Linked DNA regions of Homo sapiens: all the other regions are linked to region 1. The links are contacts of gene promoters, found by promoter capture Hi-C in human tissues and cell types (Jung and others, 2019). All regions are on one chromosome and are shown on one strand. The core of a region is centred on a gene start or on the middle of the fragment in contact, and the rest is flanking DNA. Distances in the headings are between cores, read along the strand shown. Region 1 holds the start of FJX1 (four-jointed box kinase 1). Region 2 overlaps LDLRAD3 (low density lipoprotein receptor class A domain containing 3). Region 3 overlaps LDLRAD3 (low density lipoprotein receptor class A domain containing 3). Region 4 has its middle 15 kb from the start of LDLRAD3. Region 5 has its middle 38 kb from the start of LDLRAD3.

The links. The method cuts DNA at HindIII sites, captures the fragments that hold promoters and counts their contacts. A contact is called where the count stands out against the background at its distance.
Region 2: a fragment that was not itself captured here is called in contact with the fragment with the promoter of FJX1 in region 1 in 1 of the 25 tissues and cell types used here (spleen).
Region 3: a fragment that was not itself captured here is called in contact with the fragment with the promoter of FJX1 in region 1 in 1 of the 25 tissues and cell types used here (dorsolateral prefrontal cortex).
Region 4: a contact is called between a fragment that was not itself captured here and the fragment with the promoter of FJX1 in region 1, in 1 of the 25 tissues and cell types used here (spleen).
Region 5: a contact is called between a fragment that was not itself captured here and the fragment with the promoter of FJX1 in region 1, in 1 of the 25 tissues and cell types used here (hippocampus).

What each region holds. Positions count from the first base shown.
Region 1 is chr11:35,615,101-35,619,709 of GRCh38, forward strand. It overlaps FJX1 (four-jointed box kinase 1), which reads left to right and starts at 3,360. Exons shown (of 1, transcript NM_014344.4): 1 at 3,360-4,609. The coding sequence starts at 3,537. RefSeq lists silencers at 2,948-3,037, 3,068-3,397, 3,219-3,380, 3,478-3,547, 3,568-3,827 and 1 more and enhancers at 3,680-4,314, 4,315-4,609. The HindIII fragment of the contact is 11,931 bases long and covers 1-4,609 here.
Region 2 is chr11:36,098,035-36,102,643 of GRCh38, forward strand. LDLRAD3 (low density lipoprotein receptor class A domain containing 3) reads left to right here. Exons shown (of 6, transcript NM_174902.4): 4 at 293-427. Among named protein-coding and RNA genes, the nearest start is that of MIR3973, 90 kb to the left of the region's middle. RefSeq lists an enhancer at 3,747-3,916. The HindIII fragment of the contact is 6,988 bases long and covers 1-4,609 here.
Region 3 is chr11:36,037,133-36,041,741 of GRCh38, forward strand. All of the region lies in intron 2 of LDLRAD3 (low density lipoprotein receptor class A domain containing 3), which reads left to right. Among named protein-coding and RNA genes, the nearest start is that of MIR3973, 29 kb to the left of the region's middle. RefSeq lists an enhancer at 1,539-2,046. The HindIII fragment of the contact is 5,673 bases long and covers 1-4,609 here.
Region 4 is chr11:35,926,663-35,931,271 of GRCh38, forward strand. No RefSeq gene overlaps it. Among named protein-coding and RNA genes, the nearest start is that of LDLRAD3, 15 kb to the right of the region's middle. The HindIII fragment of the contact is 6,604 bases long and covers 1-4,609 here.
Region 5 is chr11:35,903,609-35,908,217 of GRCh38, forward strand. No RefSeq gene overlaps it. Among named protein-coding and RNA genes, the nearest start is that of LDLRAD3, 38 kb to the right of the region's middle. The HindIII fragment of the contact is 5,735 bases long and covers 1-4,609 here.

The DNA of each region.
Region 1 (4,609 bases), core at 2,110-4,609:
AAGTAAATAACTAGAACAAGGAACAAGCCAGAAAGTGCTAATGCCAGACTTGGAAAATATTCCAATTCCAAGCCTCCTCCCCTGCTTCCAACCCTCAACTCCACCTCCTCTCTTTCCCCCAGGAGGCACCATTACATGAACCAGATCATTCTTCAAACAGGACTGTGGAAAAGTTTGAAGATATTGGAAGTTCAGGCTCAGGGATAAATTCTAAGGAGTATTAAGAAAGTCATAAAAGTGCAAATGGATTTCTCATCCCCAAGCAACTGCCAGAGGGCAGAAGTGACTGAGGTGATTAACTATGCTACCCCACAGAGCCAAAGTGGTTTGGCCACAGGTGGCAGGGGAGTGTCCTCAGTCCAGAAAATAAAGGAGAATGGGAGTATTTTCATCTAACAGCTAAACAGAGGCATGTTTTTAAACCCTGTCTCAAATAATCAAATACCATTCCAAAACTGCATTCCACTTTGAGGAAGGGGCAGTGTTTGTTCCTTTGGTTTTCTGTATTTCTGCATTTCAATTAATTTGTTAAAGTTTAACAAATTAATGCATCCTGTTCTGGTACATGATGCATTCAGTCCTATGGCTATAGGCAAAGGGCTGCTCAATGATAAAATTAGTCCATCTTATGAGGTGTACGATCTTAGTCAATTTATTTAAGTCTGGGTTTTTTTCATCAGTACCAGCAATATGGTTAGGAGATTCCAGGATTTCTAGTCTCTGGATTTGAAGCCAGCCCTCCCAGAATTAAAATCATGTGCTTCCCCTCACATCTATCATGCAAAACCCTCACCAATATTTTTTCTTTTTCAAATGAGTGGAAGTTCTTATTTTGTATTCTTTAATCAGCTGAACAATAACTCACAACCGTTGGACAAAATTGTTTTGCATTATTTAGTAGTAAGGTATTTAATTTAAAAAAACTTGATACATGCTACTTGCATCTCATTAGCATTCTAACGATGTATTCAGCAAATTGTTGTTGAACACACACTAAGTGCCAGGCATTGTGCCCAGGCAGCCATAAAACAATGGACAAGACAGACTCCCCAGGAAGTTTACAATGGTAGTTACTTACAGCTTTTGTTAGCAGCCAAAAAGACAGAGACCCCAACTACTTTGGATTTCTCCATATCCCCTAGGACATAGCTTGGTACACAGTAGACATTTAATAGTCTTCCGAATTTAACTTCAACAATTAATCATCCAGTTAAAAATGTCTACTTTTCTCCAATTAGATGATACTCTACTTATGCCCACTAGGTGGCGATCTTGCTTATAGTTTGCCCACGCTGAAAGAGGCTGCCTTTCAAATAAATACATATATATCCCAGTAGAAGTTAAACCAAAAGACAAAAAAATTAAATTTATTGAGTGCTTATTTAGTGTAATATACTATGTTAGGTGGTATAAGAAATAAAAAAATAAGACATAGTCCCTGCCTGCTAGGGAAAGATGAGGAGGGGCTTACATAGGCCAAAAAAATAAGACCTTTGAATGGATTAATATATTTCGATGCAACCATATGGGAGCCATAGTAATCTCATTATCAGATAAGAGTTATAAAATGGCATGGTATAGCCACCATGTGGTTGGGAACAGATTCAACAGTTCATCCAGTATGTACTTAACCACACCAGTGAAAACACTTGACTGTATCCTGGGTCAGTGCTGCAATACTCCAAATGTGGTTTTTTGATGCCTCTGCTCAGCCATAAACATAAGAGTGTCTGCTTTATCACCCTGGAACGCTCTATCACCCTAGAACGTTTTTTCTTTGGAGAATAAAACATAATCAGTGCCAACTGATGAGGTAGTCCAGTTGAAAACCCCCATGTGCACCTGATGGGAAGATGAAAGGAGAGAAAAGATACACACCATGTAAGGAAACAGATTTCAAACTCTGGCCTTTGAGAGGTGGATTCCACCATGCCCCTGATCTTGTGTCTACCCTGGGAATCTCAGTGTGGATCTGGGACTCATTCTGATACAGAGAGGTAAGGGAGGGCCGACTGGCATCCAAGTTTTCCTGGTAAATGTAACCCAGAGGTGGCTGGAAGATGTGTTGGGGTGAAGAGGTTGTTCATTTTGTTTTCTTTGCTCCTTCACCACCTCCCTCCCCCACCACCACCACCATTTCTTTTTCCCTTAAATCGTAAAAGCAGTAAATCAAATGCAGTATGGGATTGAGGTTTTTTTCCTTTCCATTTGAAAAATCCTTTTAATTGAAAAATCACATTTGGGGAACAAAGTGGTCAAATGACAGTGAATTTCAAACTTGAGAATGCTGACTTGATTAAAAAAAAAATACTGATCTTTCTTAATGGAGGGAAAATCAAGTGCATGCGGCCAGGAGACCTGAGTTTGACTTTTAGCTTCGCCCCTTGCTAATTGTGCAATCCTGAGCAACACCCATCCCTTCTCTGTGCCTCAGTTTCCTCATGGACAAAACGGTATCATTTCTTTCGAAAAGTCGTCCCTGACTCCCCTCTCCCCAACACGAGGTTGGATGGCTATAATCTCTCTTAGCAACCTGAGAGTCCCACTGGAATGTAAATTTCAGCAGCACTGGGACCCGGATCTGTGGATTTTGCTTCTGGTAAGCAGAACCAGAACTGAGGGGCAGTCGCTGTGTTGAATGGATGCATGAATGAATGGGAGATGGCCTAGGTGTTCAAGGGGCACGTGCACAGCGAGGCTTCATTCCCTGGGAGTCCGTTGGGAAAGGCAGAGCGGCCAATACTGATTGGTGCTGATGTGCGAGCTCGGAAAAGGGAGTGTCGGTTCAAAGTTGTTGGCTACAGCGGGTTCCTCTTTCCGCTGGAATCACATCCTCTGTGGCTCGGAGACATTCCCAGAGATTTACATAAAGCAGCGTGAATCACCCAGACAGAAACTGAGAAAGCAAAGGGACCCTGCCTGATCCTAGCCTGGCGGAGCTCGGAAAGAGGTGGAAATCTGTCTGAAGTTTGCAGGAGACCCGCGCTGCCTAGGCAAAGGGACCCGGCGACCAAGACACCCCCGCGAGGGCCCAGGGCGCGTCCCTCCCGCCAGGCCCCAGACTCCGGCTCTGCGCCACCCCCTCCTACGCCCCGGCGCGGGCGCAGCCAGTCCGGCTTCCTCCAGGCCCCCAAGTCCCGGACCGAGTGTGGGGCCGCCTCTCCCTCTCGGAAGGAGCCATCGCCGCTTTAAGTGGAAGAGGAGAGGAAGGGGGCGGGGGAGCGGGGGGCGGGGAGCGGAGGCGGAGGAGGGGGAGGGGGATCCCCCTGGCTCCCACGTGGTCCGGGCGCCTGTGAATCGCGCCCACCGGAGGGTCTCACAGCGAAATACAAAAGCAGCTGGGAAGCGGCGGGGACTCGAGTTCCCAGCGCCGGGCGGAGCGCCGGACAGAGCCCCGCAGCGCCCCGCGGCCGCGATGGGGCCGAAGCGCCCGAAGCCCCGGAGCCCACAAACTGCCGGGCCCGCCTCGCCGCCGGGACCCGGGTGCCTGGGCTCGGCTTGAAGCGGCGGCGGCGCACCGGCACAGCCGCGGGAGCATGGGCAGGAGGATGCGGGGCGCCGCCGCCACCGCGGGGCTCTGGCTGCTGGCGCTGGGCTCGCTGCTGGCGCTGTGGGGAGGGCTCCTGCCGCCGCGGACCGAGCTGCCCGCCTCCCGGCCGCCCGAAGACCGACTCCCACGGCGCCCGGCCCGGAGCGGCGGCCCCGCGCCCGCGCCTCGCTTCCCTCTGCCCCCGCCCCTGGCGTGGGACGCCCGCGGCGGCTCCCTGAAAACTTTCCGGGCGCTGCTCACCCTGGCGGCCGGCGCGGACGGCCCGCCCCGGCAGTCCCGGAGCGAGCCCAGGTGGCACGTGTCAGCCAGGCAGCCCCGGCCGGAGGAGAGCGCCGCGGTGCACGGGGGCGTCTTCTGGAGCCGCGGCCTGGAGGAGCAGGTGCCCCCGGGCTTTTCGGAGGCCCAGGCGGCGGCGTGGCTGGAGGCGGCTCGCGGCGCCCGGATGGTGGCCCTGGAGCGCGGGGGTTGCGGGCGCAGCTCCAACCGACTGGCCCGTTTTGCCGACGGCACCCGCGCCTGCGTGCGCTACGGCATCAACCCGGAGCAGATTCAGGGCGAGGCCCTGTCTTACTATCTGGCGCGCCTGCTGGGCCTCCAGCGCCACGTGCCGCCGCTGGCACTGGCTCGGGTGGAGGCTCGGGGCGCGCAGTGGGCGCAGGTGCAGGAGGAGCTGCGCGCTGCGCACTGGACCGAGGGCAGCGTGGTGAGCCTGACACGCTGGCTGCCCAACCTCACGGACGTGGTGGTGCCCGCGCCCTGGCGCTCGGAGGACGGCCGTCTGCGCCCCCTCCGGGATGCCGGGGGTGAGCTGGCCAACCTCAGCCAGGCGGAGCTGGTGGACCTAGTACAATGGACCGACTTAATCCTTTTCGACTACCTGACGGCCAACTTCGACCGGCTCGTAAGCAACCTCTTCAGCCTGCAGTGGGACCCGCGCGTCATGCAGCGTGCCACCAGCAACCTGCACCGCGGTCCGGGCGGGGCGCTGGTCTTTCTGGACAATGAGGCGGGCTTGGTGCACGGCTACCGGGTAGCAGGCATGTGGGACAAGTATAACGA
Region 2 (4,609 bases), core at 1,206-3,705, 480 kb after region 1:
GAGATTCCTGTTGCTGGTGTTGAAAGGCATCAATATTCAGTTATTAAGCAGACTTACTTAACCAGAGTGGCAGATCTCTCCAAAGACCCCCAGGAGGTTTTAGAATGAGGCAGAGTAAGTCTTGTGTCCAGGTTTGGCTGGCCAGCCTTACAGCATGGGCTTTGAGTCTGCCAGCTTAGAAGATAAGCTTACTGCTTCCTGAGCGGGACACACGCCAGGCTGGAAGAAGTTCCAGGGTCCCCAAGGGAACTTGCTGGCCTCCCTGGTAATGTGCTGTGTTTTCCCTCTGCAGCAGCAAACCCTCTGCTTTGCTCCACCGCCCGCTACCACTGCAAGAACGGCCTCTGTATTGACAAGAGCTTCATCTGCGATGGACAGAATAACTGTCAAGACAACAGTGATGAGGAAAGCTGTGAAAGTTCTCAAGGTAGGAACCTCTCAAGCTCTAAAAAGATAATTGCAACACAACACTGCAGTAATGGAACACCCTGAAAGGCAGAAAGCAACACCCATTCCCATTCCAAACACAATAGCTCTGTTAGTTTTTGCACTCAGCCTTGCAGCCCTTGTACAGGTAGGTACCCGTGTTTACGTGGCTTTAACTACAACACACCTACCATTTTGAATTTTGTATTGTTCCTGAATTAAATATCATCTATACATTTCTCTTCAAAACTGTAATATGCCCCAACTGTGTTACATACTGTCATGTTACTCTCCTGTGGTTTTCTGAGACAACGCTTTATTGGGGCAATCCAGGTTGTTTCTTTCCCTTGAATTACTTCTTTGGGATAAAGTCTGCAGAGTGGGATGTCTGCACAGGTGTCTGTTACACCTCAGCATGCAGCTGTGTTTTTTTTTCTTTTTTAAGTTTACATTGCTGACATCATTGTCTGTGCCTGTCAGTTTTACTGTGCTATCACAGACATTCACAGGCATCACAACTGCTGCCCTATTTTTTTTTTCCCATTTTTGCTAATTTGGTAGTCATAGAATAACAACCTCCCCAAATGCTTTCATTTGCATTTCTCTGATTATGAGCAGAGTTCACATTTTTTCCCGTCATGTTTGTTTACTGCTTTGTTTCCTTTTCTGTGAATTGCCTCCTTGTGTCTGGGCTATTGATTTTGGGGCTGTCTCATGGAAGCTGAGGGATGCAGCTGGAGGATGGGAAGATGAGCTTTGTTAGGGAGTCTGAGGAGGACACAATGGGATAAGGTCATGTCCTCCCTAGTTAAAACTGACCGGGTACATTTCTTTACTCATGGACTCTTTTTTTTAGCATTTCTTCAGTGATTAGAAATACTAAGATTTAAAATGCACATCTGTTTTAAGGCATCCGAAAGAATATATATTTCTAATGTTATAAATTGGTATCATCTGTATGTAATCTTTCCTATTTTCACTTAGTATTATATTGCTGTGATTCACCTGTATTGTTTGTTGTTGGAGATTGTTTGTCTTGACTTATGTTCAGTGTTCTACTGTATGATTGTACCATAGTTTATAGATCTAATAAAAGTGTGAAAAGAAAAGTAAGAGAATGATGGTTAACTGCTTAGCTGGTTAACTCATATATTGGGAGGTAGGATAGATGATGGATAAGTTCCATGTAGTTAGATGTAGGTTATTTTCAAGGTCCTAGCTTTTATTTTGATTGGTGTTTATGCTATTAAAAATGAACGAGTGAATGAACAGATGGTCATACATAACAACTGGTGAGAGTGGGCTACAAACCAAGGATTATGGTCAATCTAAATCTATATGCCTGAGGTCCATAGGAAAGAAAAGACAAAATGTGTATTGGCATAGACTTTGCCAAGATTTGTGCAGAGAACAGCTGTGGGAGGCGAGTCTTGGATAGAATTAGCTTCTGATTGTCTTTGCCTGGAAAATGCCTTTCTTGGGTCGACTCTTCACAGTGGTTCTCAAAGTATAATCCTCAGTCCGGGAGCATCAGCATCACATGAGAACTCCGAAAATGCAGTTGTTCAGGCGCCATTCTAGACCAGCTAAATCAACTGGTGTCGGTGGGCCCAGCCAGAAATGCAGTTGTTCAGGCCCCGTTCTAGATCAGCTAAATCAACTGGCGGGAGTGGGCCCAGCCATCGGCGTTTTACTTAAGAAGCCCTCAAGGTGATTCTAATGCACACTGAAGGCTGAGCTCCACCATTCTACAGTCACCTGAGAGAGGTTTATAATCCTGCCATTTGCCTAGAAATTTCCAAACTTCTGACTGAACGCAACGTATTGCTGGCCTTTACACAAGATCAAATTTTTATAAAACCAAACATGCCAATGTCTTGCCAGTGATGGACACCAAATAGGGAACAAGAATGCAAAATCAAGTAAGTATTAGCATAGATAGGAAGGATTGAGGAACATTTTCTATGGCGATTGTTTCTTTTTTTGGGGGGATGGCATGGACGGAGTCTTGCTCTGTCACCCAGGCTGAAGTGCAGTGGCGTGATCTTGGCTCAGTGCAACCTCTGCCTCCCGGGTTCAAGCGATTCTCCTGCCTCAGCCTCCCAAGTAGCTGGGACTACAGGCGTGTGCCACCACGCCCAGCTAATTTTTGTATTTTTAGTAGAGATGGGTTTCACCATGTTGGCCAGGATGGTCTTGATCTCTTGACCTTGTGATCTGCCTGCCTCAGCCTCCCCAAGTGCCGGGATTTACAGGCGTGAGCCACTGCGCCCGGCCTATACAGTTTCTTAAGTGTGTATGTATCCTGGACTCACTTACTCATGGTGCCCTAAGACGTTCAGTGAAAAGACTCCCACGTCTAAGATGTGGAGGTTAGGCCTGTCAATAGTTTGGGCAACACCCTCTTCTGTGCCCATCCCAGTATTTTACTGAAGCAGATTTTTGCTTGCCCTTAAGAAGAATGGTGGGTCCCTCTGTAGGCTGTTTAAAGCTCCTATTTTTTTAAATTCTGCTTTTTCTCTCTCACCATATTCCACGTCCCATAAATATGAGGTTTATGGAGAAAGTTAGTGGTGGACACATACATATGAAGCCCAACTCTTGACACATACTTTCCTTAGAATCTCAGCTTTGTGCCTTCCTTAGCCAGAGGGCATCCCCTTAGAAAATAAGCTACATATGCACGTGCTCCCAGAAAATAAGGCCCACCAGGCAGTTGCTGACACCTGTCAGTTTCATGGGTATAACAGCCACCCCACAAGGTGCCCACTTGTGGAAGGCATTGCTGTGAGCTACCCAAGAAGAGTAACAAGAACAGGACCTGTGCCCGTTTTGCCTCTCAAATCCTGCCGAACCTACGTGGTGGCATTGTGCTCTGTACATAGTGGATTTGCTAAGTGCTGAAGACTAGAAAAGACTTCTTGGTAGAGTGTTGTTATTAATGCTGTGTTTTAATTTGCACCCTGTGTGATATTGCACCGTATAGGTTTTTAAGTTATGTGAGTTCAGATATCCACGATTTATTAAAATAATAACAAGTATTATTATTGTTGTTTAAATTGGGTAGAGAATTCCGTCATTTCCTCAGTGGGAATCTGCCCTGCAGTGAGTGTGAGATGGGAGACAGATCTGGAGTTCCCTTAGCTGTCTGCAATTCTGCAGCCTCATCCTTCGTAGGGTGTACACATCTCCCTGCCCTGAGTGAGACTCTGGTATTAAGGGTGTGTTTTCTTGCATCATGTAACCTCTATGTCCAAACCGACTAACTCATTTTGGTGCTTGACCAAAGGAACCCCAGCACATCAGTGCTGTGGGAAAACTGACCCACACTGAGCTCTATGCAGTATTTTCCTGAAGAATCTCAGAGATAGTTTGACTAGACAAAATATTGCCCTATGCCACATAGGATTTGACCCACTGTCATCTTTTTTTTTTTTTTTTTTTTGAGACGGAGTCTCACTCTTGTTGCCCAGGCTGGAGTGCAGTGGCACAATCTCGGCTCACTGCAAGCTCCGCCTCCCAGGTTCACGCCATTCTCCTGCCTCAGCCTCCCGAGTAGCTGGAACTACAGGCGCCCGCCACTACGCCTGGCTTATTTTTTGTATTTTTAGTAGCGACGGGGTTTCACCGTCTTAGCCAGGATGGTCTTGATCTCCTGACCTCGTGATCCACCCGCCTCGGCCTCCCAAAGTTCTGGGATTACAGGCGTGAGCCACCGCACCCGGCCGACCCACTGCCATCTTAACAATACTTTTTGATGCACTGAGTACTCTGCTAAGCACCTCTGTACATGAGCTCACTTAGTCAAACTTTGTTCTCTCTCCTTCTGCTGGGTGTGTAGCCCTTAAAAATAGATCTTTGCTCTCAGTTATGTGGGAGAAAATGATATTTTATCATATTTATCTTGATGGGGTAGAGCAAACTGGCTGGCTCCAAGACCAGAAAGAGAGTGCTTGAAATAATTCTCTTCCAATTTGACTAGGGTATGAAATAGTGGTTTCTCCACTTTAGCAACACCAGTTTATGGGAGCCCCTCCTCCTCTCTCTCCTTATCTGGGATTTAGTTCCCCTCCTTATCCTTGGCCTTGAAAACTAACATACAGTCTGTAAGGAACTGGGCACGAGAATGGGGCCCTGAAAGTGCAGTCATTATTCTGTCTTTGTATTCTATATGAGATGTATT
Region 3 (4,609 bases), core at 1,118-3,617, 420 kb after region 1:
GGGTTGTCTCACAGGGGATTGCCTTGAGACCACATGACTGGACGATGGTTCCTGGCTCTTTCATGTGCTTTGGGCACCAGGCCACGTGGCCTGTCTGACAGGAGAACTATGTGTCCTGGCTCTGAGCCTGCTGTCTCCCTGGAAGCCAGCTGAGGAAATAGCTGAAGACAGGTTAATCATTTGAACTTTTTTTTTTCCCTGAAACGGAGTCTTGCTCTGTCACCCGGGGCTGGAGTGCAGTGGTGTGATCCCGGCTCACTGCAACCCCCACCTCCCGGGTTCAAGCGATTCTCCTGCCTCAGCCTTCTGAGTAGCTGGAGTACAGGCACCCACCACCGTGCCCAACTAATTTTTGTATTTTTATTAGAGACGGGGTTTTACCATGTTGGCCAGGCTGGTCTCAAACTACTGACCTCATGATCCGCCCACCTCAGCCTCCCAAAGTGCTGGGATTACAGGCATGAGCCACTGTGCCCAGTCAGTCATTTGAATTTTTAACATATTTCTGACCAGAATTTGGGGCCGAGTCTGTTGACGCATGGGAACGGGCACTGGCTTTGGAGTTCACACACCTCTGGAGCAAGCTGCCCCCTCTGAAACTGGTCCTTCGCCCATCCAAGGGGTCCCATATCCCCAGTGCCTGCTCCTGCCCTTCAGAGAAGTTTTTGGGATGGGAAAATTGGGGGTGTGTTATTTGGGGAGAATATTTCATACTGCTTGTTGCATATGATCTTTCTGAATTGATCACTATACACACTGAATTTTTATTTTTGCAGAATTGTTTGTTTGTTTATTGTTTTCCAGCCCAGGCTGGAATGCAATGGCATGATCACAGCTCACTGCAGCCTCGACCTCCTGGACTCAAGTGATCCTCCCACTTTGATCCCCCTAGTAGCTGGGACCACAGGAGTGCGCCGTCACGCCTGGCTAATGTATTTTTATTTTTTGTAGAAACAGAGTTTCACCACGTTGCCCAGGTTGCTCTTGAACCCCTGAGCTCAATAATCCATCTACCTCCGCCTTCCAACGTGCTGGGATTACAGATTACAGATGTGAGCCACCAAGCCCGGCCTGCAGAATTATTTTTTAAAAGTATTATTATGTCTATTTTAGCTTTTCTCTGTTTCTAACATGGCCTCAGAATTACTAGAGCTATAACATTAGTAATCTGAGCAAATGACATAGTATGGGTGAGCTCTGTCATCTGTCTGGTTTTGAGGATTTATTAAACACTGTACAAGTGTGCCAAGTTACCATTTTTGAGATATGGTGTATATTTCAACTTCGGCACATACGGATTATCGTTAGCTGACCTGGGAATGTTTGGCACATGATCAGTTTCTGAAAGAACGCAGGATTAAGGAGTTGATTCCTAAATTGTATGCCCAGCTTTGTCAATAGCAGCTGTGTGATATTAGTGCATTCTATGGCATTCTGTGTCCTGTCACTCCAGTCTCATGATTTTAGAATTCATGCTCAAACTGGAAGACATGGTGGAGAGCAAATGTTTTTAAAAAAGATGTTGCCGGCAGCTGCCTGGAGCTGCTTGGTTTGGTTTGGAACAGGCTCATTCTTGGCTATTCTCCATTATTTTTTTCCCCTGACTTCCTACCCTTAACCCCCAAGTGTGGTGGAGGTTTGAGTGGCATTTATTTAGTCCTTTGAGCAAAACATAATTAAAAAACCATGCGCCCCAAACATACATTAACCTCTCTCTGTAGCCCTTCTTTTTTTGTCTTTAAATCGTGAAAACAGAACATTAGAAAGTTTAGACAGTAGAGGGAAGGAGAAAAAGTCCCTTTTCTAAAACAAATTCTACTTTCATTTAAAATTTCTTTCTTTTTTTTTTTTTTTTAGACGGAGTCTTGCCTCTGTCACCCAGGCTGGAATGCAGTGGCGTGATCTCGGCTCACTGTAAGCTCCGCCTCCCGGGTTCACGCCATTCTCTCGCCTCAGTCTCCCGAGTAGCTGGGACTACAGGCGCCCGCCACTACGCCCGGCTACTTTTTTGTATTTTTAGTAGAGACGGGGTTTCACCGTGTTAGCCAGGATGGTCTGGATCTCCTGACCTCGTGACCCGCCCGCCTCGGCCTCCCAAAGTGCTGGGATTACAGGCGTGAGCCACCGCGCCCGGCCTAAAATTTCTTATATATTCCCTTTCAGCCTAGGAGTGAGGGTGTGAGCCCTTGAGAAGGCCGATTTGTGTCAAAATCAGAGCCCTTCTTCCCCCTTAGGGGGCTGTGTGATCGTGGGAAACTTACCAGAATGTTCTAAACTTTAGCCTTTGGGAGGTTTAAAGAGAATTCTTTAACCTCCTGGTGCCTCAATTTCCTCCTCTCCAAAATGGGGGTAATAAGGCTTCTGATACTTAACAGTGTTGTGAAATTTTAACCTGTATGAAGCACGCAGCACAGTGCCTGTATACAGTAAGTGGCTTGTAAACATTAACTGCTATTGGTTAAATCTGTATCAACTATTTTATTTGGTCGTTGTCATGGGGAAATACGGTTCAATTATCTGCTTTTTTCTACTTAACATTAGAGGCCCTTGGCCACATTCTATATTGAGGATTCACAGTTGTTTTGGGAGGCTGCCTAATGCTCTGTCAAGTAGTGACACTGTAACTTAACCATCCCTCTATGTTTCAGTCTCTTCTGTTTCAGTCTCTTCTGCACTTTTACTTCTGCTGGTCAAAATGTTTAGGATCATTTAAAGAACTTATGCATAACCAGACGACAGAAATATACAATGGTTTCAGCCAGAGTCAGGGTGGACAGGGCTGAGGTCTCCAGGGTGACCAACTTGACCACCTTTTCAAGGATGATGGAAACGGCTGATGTGGAATTTCTGCCGCCTTCCCGGAGGGAGGGAGACTGGTTCTGTGTCTTGCTTATGAGCTACAAAGCCCTTTCTCTGATTCTTTGGAGCAACTGGGTACTTAAGGGGAGGTGAGTGAAGGTGGCAGTGTTCTCGCCTCGGAGAGGTGATTACTTCAAGTGCCCTGTGGAGCTTTGGCATTGGAAAGATAATACGCTTCTTAAAAAAGAATTCTTGCCCTTTTCGAAGGGCAAGAAAGAGCCTGGAGAGGTGTGTCATGGTGGGATATGAGGCAGTGAGCAGCTCTTCTGTATCCACAGCAGAGGAAGGATTTTTACCAGACAGGAAGATTTTTTTTTTTTAATCGTGACGGTAATAAGATCACATATTGTAAAAATTGAGGGCAGAGAAGGAGGAAAAGCATCTGTACTCAGATCCACTATTGGCATCCTGGAAGTTCTCATTCAGGCTTTTCCCCAGTGTAATCGCCAGGGGTGTACAGTTTTATATTTTGACATTTTCTCATGTAACATTTCAACCTGTTAACAGTTTTTCTGTATCTCCCCCCATTTTTCTCTTTATCATTTTTAGTGCCATTAACTTGCTATAATATGGTTTATTTACACATAATTTGGCATTTCTCTTCTTTCCAGTTTTCCACTATGGGAAACAGTGCTCACTTGTGAACAGGAGGGTGGACATGACTTTCCCTCTGTTTTGAGAAATTTGCTTAGGCTAAATTCTCAGAATTAAAATTACTGGGTTGGAGGGAAGGCGCCTTTTCTGGCTCTTGACACCGACTGCCGACTTGTTTTGCTAAAGGTTTGCACCAGTTTGTTGGCAACATGTGAAAACTATGACTTTATTTTAGTCTTGGCAGCCCTGGGTAACATCTTTAAAAAATATTTTTCTGGTTAATTTAATAATTGAAAAGTTACTTTTTTTAATTAAAAAAAATTATCTAGCTAGATTGAGTGTTTTCCCTTACCTCTAGTTACTAGTTTTATTTCTTTGTGAGATACCTATTGATGGACTAATATTAATTTCCAGCTGAGTTAAGACATTAGATTTTCTGCCTCTTGAATCTGTAGAAGAGGGTCATTTTGGGACACTTTGAGTATATTTCTGTTCTTGGTTAGTGGAGTGCCCTCAGTGATAGTTTTATCCAAATAACTTAAAAATAAAATAAAAGGAATAAAGATAATGTTTTACAAAAACGAGGAAGCTCCATGGAAGTCCTGATTATGAGGAGAGCTTATTAGAGCTTCCTCTAGGCCACACTATCCCAGGCATTTTACATTCTATTGATTCATTTGATTATTGCGGAAGCCTTATTAGTAACCGGCTGGTGTCATCTCCAGATGAGGAAATTGAGCAGTAGAGCGATTACATGGAGCTTGCCTGTTGGCCCAGAAAATAAGTCTCCATAACCTTCCTCCATCAGAGACCCCCAGTGGGGGCTTTCAGTCTTTTTCTCTAGGTATCTGTTACCCTGCTGAAATGGAATCTTACTGCTATCATGACATATTATCATGTCAAACCTGCTTTTTAAAAAGATTCTAAAAACGTCAATAATGGTTTCTTATAGAAATGAATATTTACATGGCCGTTAGTCCTGGGAGTCTCTGAAATGTTTTCCTTGAAGAGACTGTCCTTTGATTAGTGCTCCCCTCTGTAATAAAGCAGCAGTCCAAATTTCCAGAACCCACAGGGGACCAGGGGTCAAGAGCCTTAAGATCTTTTTCCAGTTCTGTGTTGATTTTAGCTGCTGTCTCTCCGTGTTCTAACCAAG
Region 4 (4,609 bases), core at 1,414-3,913, 310 kb after region 1:
TCAGGAGATCGAGACCATCCTGGCTAACACAGTGAAACCCCATCTCTACTAAAAATACAAAAAATTAACCAGGTGTGGTGGCAGGTGCCTGTAGACCCAGCTACTCGAGAAGCTGAGGCAGGAGAATCCCTTGAACCCAGGAGGCAGAGGTTGCAGTGAGCAGAGATCGCGCCACTGCACTCCAGCCTGGGCGACGGAGCAAGACTCCAGCCTGACTGACGGAGTGAGACTCCATCTCAAAAAAAAAAAAAAGTACATTTGATGGAACCACTCCGTCGTTTGGTTATGTTTATTGTGTTTGTCTAGAAGTGAAGGTTATCAGGGAAATTATCCCTTCTTGAATGCCTGCATGTTATTATTCTCTCCAGTGTTCAGAGGAGGAAACTGAGTCTTCTAATGATAAAGTTCGTTGTCCAGCGTCACCAGCTGGTTAGTAGCTAAACCAGGATTTAAACCCAGGTTTTCCCTGAAGCCGAGCTCTGTTTTACACCAAAATAGCTCTTCTGGGCACCAAGGCAGGCACAACGGAGTTCCCTGCTGCCAGCATTAATGTGGGTATAAATGAGTTAACACTGAACACTGCTTCTGGGGCATGCGATGTAGCCGATTAGATTCTCCGCGGACTCTGAGTCCAGAGGCTAGGAGTCTTTGTTTTGTCACTGATAAATGATCTGCGGGCTCTTAATCCTGATTCTATATTCCTCATTTGTAAAGCTGTTGGCATATTTGCACTGAGCAGATCGCTCTCTCTGCCAGCTTAGCTTCACGTGGCAATTTGGGATTTTTTTTTTTCTTTAAGATTTTATAACGCCGAGAGTAAAATGGGAATGTTTTCATAAATGCTTAAGCATCTTTAGTGAAGCTAATTTATAGAATTTAAATGTTCCTCTCCGGCAGTTTTAAACTCAAATTTCTCAGCGGTGGTTGGGGGGTTGGGGCCAAGAAACAGGAAACTGCTCTGTTTCACTGTTCATACTCAACAATAAAAAATTAAACGGCCTAAAAAGTGCAAGCTAGAGAGAATTTTTTTCAGACGTACCCTCCTCTGAATTGGAGTGATGGTGATAAAGGCAAAAATGGGATTCTTCTCTTTTCCGGGTCCCCCGGCCCTCCTTGGCAGGGGCCTGGCGGCCACACCTTAAATTTCTGGGGTGACTCAGCCCCTGTGGCACAGTGCTAGGCATGACACCCAGCACCTTACTCAAGTCACCTTTGCCAGCGGCTTGCCTCCCAGCCCCTCCCTTGGGAGCATGCTTTGGCAATGGCGTGACTGGGTGATGAAGAACCTAAACTGGATTGTGCAACCTTGCGAGGTTGTGTAACCACCACGGCTGCACTTATTGCACAGTCGGCTAGAGAGCTTAGCGCACAGCCAGAGTCTGCAGTGAGGTTCCCATGGTAAGATTTTTTTGGGAGCCACTTTCTGCTTCTATTTTACATCCCGTCCTTGTTTTAGCACCTGTTTTTGTTGCCAGAAGATGAGATGGCATGAAGTCTGTCTTCCTCTCTCTTCTTATATGGAACCAGGTGGTGTATACATAAGTAGATATTTAATATATCAAAAGGGGAGGCCTTTCTCCTCACTTCTCGTTTATGGCTTTGGGAGTTCAAAAGCCTCCTTTTTTCTCTCAGCCCTAACCAAACACAAAAGATACTCAATTTTCTCTCTGGATGTGCTGATTCAGCTTTTTTTTTTTTTTTTTTTTTTTAACTGTGCATAGTGGACACCCTCCTAGCCTTCAGCTCAAGAGATTGCGGACTGTATAATAATAGAAGTAATATGGCCGGACTCGGTGGTTCACGCCTGTAATCCCAGCACTTTGGGAGGCCGAGGTGGGCAGATCACGAGGTCAGGAGATTGAGATCATCCTGGCTATCACGGTGAAACCCCGTCTCTACTAAAAAAATACAAAACCATTAGCCGGGCATGGTGGCGGGCGCCTGTAGTCCCAGCTACTCAGGAGGCTGAAGCAGGAGAATCACTCAAACCCAGGAGGCGGAGGTTGCAGTGAGCTTAGATCGTGCCACTGCACTCCAGCCTGGGCGACAGAGTGAGGCTCCACCTCAAAAAATAATAATAATAATAATAGAAGTAATAATGGAAGTAATATAACAGCTAACATTTAATAAGTGCTTATGCTGTGCCCAGTGCCATATAATAGATACCTATCCCTTAATTCTCACAATCCTGAGATAAGTGTTATAATCATCTTCCCATTTTACTGGTGAGAAAACTGAGGCTCAGAAAGATTCTGTAATTTATCCAAGGCCACACTGTTTGTAAGTGGCATGACAAGGCGAGCACCCTGGTCCATGTCATGCGTATCTCACGTGTCTCGCTGAGCAGAAGCTCAGCTTTCCAGATTGCCTATGGTGGAAAGGAAAGACATTCCTTAGGCTAGCCTCTAGGCTAACAAGGTTTATCTCATTACATTAAATAACCGTATACTTGAAAATCATTCTTAGTCCAGGATAAGGTAGGCTACACTGCAGCAATCAACCCAAAGTATTAGTGGCTTAGCATAGCAAAGGTTTATTGCGGACTCTTGCAAAATCTAATGTGAAAGTCCAGGCTGGATGGAAGGGCATGTGTTGATGTTTCAGCTGATGGTCCCAGCTGAGTCCAGCCTCAGAGTTGTCCCGTCCCAGACCCCAGGCATATGAGGGAAGAAGTTTCCAGGCAATTTCTTTTTCTTTATTTTTTTTCTTTTGAGATGGAGTTTCACTCTTGTTGCCCAGGCTGGAGTGCAGTGGTGTGATTTCAGCTCACTGCAACCTCCACCTCCTGGGTTCAAGTGATTCTCCTGCTTCAGTCTCCCGAGTAGCTGGCATTACAGGCGTGCGCCACCATGCCTGGCTAATTTTTTGTATTTTTAGCAGAGACGGGGTTTCATCATGTTGGCCAGGTTGGTCTTGAACTCCTGACCTCAGATAATCCACCTGCTTCGGCCTCCCAGAGTGCTGGGATTACATGCATGAGCCACCGCACCCAGCCTTTCCAGGCTATTTTTGCTTCTAACATTTCAAGTCACCTGCAGCTATTCATGTTGTTATGGGCTGTTTGTGTACCCCCAAAATGCATATGTCAGACCCCTAATCCCCAAAATGATAGTATTTGGAGATGGGACCTTTAAGAGGTGATTAGGGTTAGATAAGGCCATGACGGGGTGTAGGGGAGACCCGGTTTGATAAAATCAGTGTCTTAATGAGAAGAGACAGCAAAGAGCTCCTTCCTCTCTCTCAACTGTATGAGGACAGAGTAAGAAGGGGGCCCCCTGTAAGCCAGAAGGAGAGCCCTCGCCAGAAACCAAATGGGCTGCCACCTTGATCATGAACTTCCCAGGAGCCAGAACAGTAAGAAAATAAATTTCTGTTGTTTAAGCCACCCATTCTATGACAGCCATAGTTAGGGCAGCCAGGCCAGGCCAGGCATGGTGGCTCACACCTGTAATCTCAGCACTTTGGGAGCCTGAGGTGAAAGGATCACATCAACCCAGGATTTCAAGGCAGCCCAGGCAACAGAGTGGGACACCCACCTATACAGAATATAATAATAATAATTAGCCGGGTGTTGTGGCACACACCTGTAGTCCCATCTACTCGGAAGGCTGAGGCAGGGGGATCACTGGGGATCACTTGAGGCCGGGAGGTCAAGGCTTCAGTGAGCCATGATAGTGCCACTCACTGTACTCTAGCCTGGGTGACAAGAGTGAGACCCTGTCTTAAATAAAATATGTAAATCAATAAGTCAATAACAACATAGTTATGGCAGCAAAAGCAGAGTAATACACACATTTTTTTCCCAGCTGAGGCTCCAGATATCATGGAATTAGACAAGACATCCCACTTTGTCCTGTTGGAACTCCTGGCCCACAGAATGCATGAGCCTATTACAATGGTTGCTGTTTTGAGGATGGTTATTTATGAAACCACAGATAACCTACACACACAATAGATTTGCACACACCACAGGCTATAACTTTCATTCATTCAACAAATATTTACTGAACACATATTAGGAGCCAGACACTATTCTGAGCATGTATCAGTGAACAGAACAGGTAAAGACCTGTCCTCCTACTGCTTATATTGTGTAGGGATAAAAATTGCTGTTTTTAAAAATAATCATTTTAAGTATATTTTTCTAGTTACAAAAGTAACACTTGCTCATTCAATGCATTTGAGAAATACAAAAAGATACTTTGAAAACGCACAAAAAATAATCATTATGCAGAAATAATGCATTGCTAATATTATTTTATTATCTGACAATCACAGGCACACATAGATGAACAAACATACTCTTTAAACTGGAGTCACACTTTATATTCAGTTTTATATCCTGTTTTTATTTTTATTTTTATTTTTTTTATTTTTTTTTTTGAGACGGTGTCTCGCTCTGTCACCCAGGCTGGAGTGCAGTGGCGCAATCTCGGCTCACTGCAAGCTCCGCCTCCCGGGTTCACGCCATTCTCCTGCCTCAGCCTCCCGAGTAGCTGGAACTACAGGCGCCCGCCACTACGCCCGGCTAATTTTTTTTTTTTTTTGTATTTTTAGTAGAGACGGGGTTTCACCGTGGTCTCGATCTCCTGACCTCATGATCCACCCG
Region 5 (4,609 bases), core at 982-3,481, 290 kb after region 1:
AGCCAGGTGATAACAGGCCACAAACTGATACCATGACCTGGGGGTTGTAGACCCCTGAGATAGGTGGTTGCCATGGGCTGGAGTAGGGGAAGAGGTTGACTAAAAAGGGGCATGAGGGGGCCGGGCACAGTGGCTCACGCCTGTAATCCCAGCACTTTTGGAGGCCGAGGCGGGTGGATCATGAGGTCAGGAGATTGAGACCATCCTGGCTAAGATGGTGAAACCCCGTCTCTACTAAAAATACAAAAAATTATCTGGGTGTGGTGGGTGGGCGCCTGTAGTCCCAGCTACTGGGGAGGCTGACGCAGGATAACAGCGTGATCCCGGGAGGTGGGGCTTGCAGTGAGCTGAGATCGCACCACTGCACTCCAGCCTGGGCGACAGAGCAAGACTCTGTCTCAAAAAAAAAAAAAAAAAAAAAAAAGAGTAGGGGGCATGAGGGAATTTTAGGGGGTTAATGGGACTGTTCTATTTTTCAATTGTGATAGTTATTACATGACTGGAAATATTTGTCAAAATTCAGAACTATACACTAACAAGGGTGAATTGTACTCTATGTGAATATAAATCATACTCAAAAACCTGACTTAAAAAAAGACAAAGTAAACCAAAATTTCTTAGATACGCCATGTTTATAGTTACTAATTATTGGAATAGTTTTGCTAATTATGAGAAAACATTAGAGAGTCCCAAATTGAGGGATAGTCTACAAAATACCTCTTCAAAAGTGTTGAGCTCAAAAAGACAAAGAAAAACTGAGGAATCACCCCAGATTGCAAGAGACCAAGGATACATGACAATTTTAGTCAATGTAGGAATCTTAGGTTGGATCCTGAACTGTGAAAAGGGCATTAGTGGACAGTTGACAAAATGGGGATTAAGGTCTGTAGATTAGTAATAGTATTGTGGCAGTATTAATTTTTTGTACTCTGGTTAAGTAATATGTTACTATTAGGGAATGCTAGGTAAAAAGTATACAGGAACTCTCTGTATTATTTTTTTAAGTCTAAAATGATTTTATCGTACAAAGTTTTTTAAAAATTAACAACTTCTATTTATTAAAAGATTCTATGAGAATGTAAAAAGGCAATCCACAGAGTGCAAGACAGTATTTGCAATACATATATTCAACAAAGAACTCATTTCCATAATATATAAAGAAGTCTTTAATATTAATAAGAAATATATATAACACTCAACAGAAAAAGGATGAAAACTGTTCTAAGCACTTCACAGAGGAGGATCTCCAAATGCCAATAAACATAAAAGGTATGCAATCTTATTATTCATCAGGAATATGCAAAATAAGACCAACAAGATGCTGCCACCCACTTAACAGAATTGCTATCATTAAAAGACCAATAATACCAAGTGCTGGCAAGTATTTGAACTGATACAGGACTTTCATACCTTCTTGGCAGAAATATAAATTGGGACAACCTACAAACAGTGAATATATACATACCCTCTTCCCCATTAATTCTGCCTCTAGGTACATATAACTAAGAAAAATGTGGACATATATTCACCAAAAGACACATACAAAAATGTGATAGCAGTACTACTTGTAATAGCCCCAAATTTGCAAATCAAATGGCCATCAACATAAATTGTAGTGTAGTCATCCAATGGAATGATATGCAGTAGTAAAAATGAAACTACCATTATCCATCACAACACGATTGAATCATACAACTGTAATGTCGAGCAAAAGAGGAAAAATTTAGCTTGATGATAGAAGTCAGAATAGTGGTTACCTTTGGGAACAGGCAGGCAGCGACAGTGAGGGGACATGAGGGGACAATTGTTACACAGCTGTGCTCACTTTGTGAAAATGCATTGAACTATACACACATCTGCATATGTGATACTTACAAAAAGGTTTAATTTTTAAAATCCTTTGGAAGGCAAAGAATAGGGAGAGAAATAGAAGTGTTTTCATGAAAATATTAAAAATTCCTTTTGTTTTGAAGAAAACTATTGTTCTGTGTAATACACTTCTCCATATGGGCGAAGAAAAGCGTCCGGATAGCCCTCTTCAATGTAGGTATGATGTAAAAGCCAAGACTTCTGTGTGCTAAAACAGTAGCAACAACATAAACAAATATCAAAAGGAAGCAGACAGAAAAATTAGAGAAGAAAGTAACCATACACATCTGGAGAACCAAAAGCAAACAAACAAACAAAAAAATTCCAAGATATCAAATTGGAGAAGTGAAAATACAGTATATGTTTTATAAGACAATCAAACTGCCATGCCCATGGTGATTTCAGGAAGCTGTCTTCTCAGAGTGAAAGCCAGGGGTTACTTTGTGGGGTAAGGATAAAGAACAAAAAGATACACTGCATAATGAAAGGGCATCAGAATGAATAGAAGATAATTCCCTTGGACATGAGATGCAATGAAGTCAAGACCCATATTTTATCTCTGCTGGAGGCAGTCTTATTTGTTAGTAAAGTGCTAGGATAATAAACCATTGTTCTCCTTGCCAAGAACGTCAAAACAAATACAAGCTTCTTTGCTCAGTGCTAAAAATGTCTGAGCCTTTGGAGAACAGCTGGGCAGAAAGCGATCTTGTTCAATTTCAGCACATTTTTTCCCAAGTATTAGGCTGTCCGAACTCAGCCCACATCAAATCATCCCAGGCACCCAGTGCTGGGACAGACCTGTCATGAAAACACAGCCTATCAAACTTGAGCGAGTGGAACGCACAATAAAACCACTTTAAACTTGTCCAACTCTCTGTCTGAAGGAGCAAGGACTTTGAAGCACAAAAAAGCTACTTTAAACAGATAATTCCTTTGAGGTGCTTTTTTCATAAATATAAAAAAAAATGTTGCTGTGCTTGCAAAATTCTGTATATTGATAAGGCTCTGGGAGCATTAGAAATGATTTATGATCTCCTGGCTACCAATATCACTGTTGCCTAAGGGACAGCTTCTCCTAAGAATTTGCAAAATTGTTCTCCATGCTATCAAGTCAGCTCTCATTAAAGTATGTCTCATTTGTGGCTTGTGATTTGTATTAATTTGGAGGTATGTCATTTAGGATGTTTGGGGATTCAAGTAACTAAAAATTAAAAATGAATTCAACTGGCTTAAACAATAAGAACACTTCTTTTATCAAATAACAAGAATCCCAGAAGTAAAGTAGTCCAAGGTGGGTTAACCCAGTGACTCAAATGATGTCATCAAGGACCCAAGTTCTTTCTATCTTTCAGTTCTTCCATTCTCATGCTAAGTCCCCTCATGGGCCTAAGGTGGCTGCCACAGTCCCGCGCATCACAGCCAGATCTAAAAGTATCTAAAAGAAGAAGGAGTGTTCCTATGAGTTTCTTTTCATCACTGAGAATAAAAAAATCTTTGCAAAAGGCCTATCAGCAGACTGTCTATCGAGTTTTAGTGGCTAGAATTGTATCACATGCTTATGTCTAAGCCACTAACTAGACAGCAAATAGGATCACAATGCACCTATTAGACTAATTTACATCTAAACACAGGGATGGGGGTTATCTATGACTGATAAGATGATGGAGCAGACACCCAAGTAAATGTGTGGTACGGTCAACTTAGAAGAAAAGAGAATAGGCTGTTAGGTAGGCAAGCATCTGTGTCTGCTATAATTGACATGAAAGGTAAAATAAGTTTGGTCTAATTGAATTTTTTGGCTTAACTATGGTATGTATATATTTAAAAAAACCTTCTTACTTTCATTTTTTAATAGGCAGAATGTTGTTCTGCTGCCCAGACTGGGGTTCAGTAGTGTGATAATAGCTCACTGCAACCTTGAACTCCTTCAAGAGATCCTCCTGCCTCAGCCTCCTGAGTAGCTGGGACTTCAGGCATGCACCACCATGCCTGGCTAATTTGTTTTTATTTTTATTTTTGTAGAACGGGGTCTCATTATGTTGCCCAGGCTGGTCTCAAACTCCTGGGCTCAAGTGATCCTCCCACCTCAGCCTCCCAAAGTGTTGCAATTACAAGTGTGAGCCACCATGCTAAGCCAAAACCCTTTTAGATTCTGGCTCTGGCTGTTAAAAATTATTCTATATTAGTTCACTTCCCCCCTACTACTTAAACTGGAATGACACCTTTGGTGTGTCTATACCTAATGACACTCACCTTTCCCCACCCTTTGAAACTCCTCTTTTATTTCCATCCTCAGGATCTTAGGAGTAAGCCTCCTTCACCTGTGTTTGTGCAATGCTGTCTTCCTAGCCACAGATGATTGGAGCTGAGGTGTACAGCGGAACTTAGCTAAACCAATCAGCTTCTTTCTCTGAGAATTTCAAATTGGGGGAAACTCTGGTTGCATCAGTCTCTTCATGCGCTTGGATCTATAACATAACCTCTAGAATTGTGGGGCAGCAATTTTTCTGCCATTTGGGACAAGAAGCAAAAACTAGTGTAAGGGAAAGTAAAAATGAAAAAGATATACAGTGAGTAGTTTCTACAAGTTTTGGCTCCATAAGGCACTTTGAACTACCCCTTCACCACACACAGGCACGTGTACACACACACCTCAAAATGCATATGCAAGCCAGCTTGAGGCAGCTTATGTTACTTGCAACCAAACAGTCCTAACCAAAAAGGAACACAGTGTCCCTTT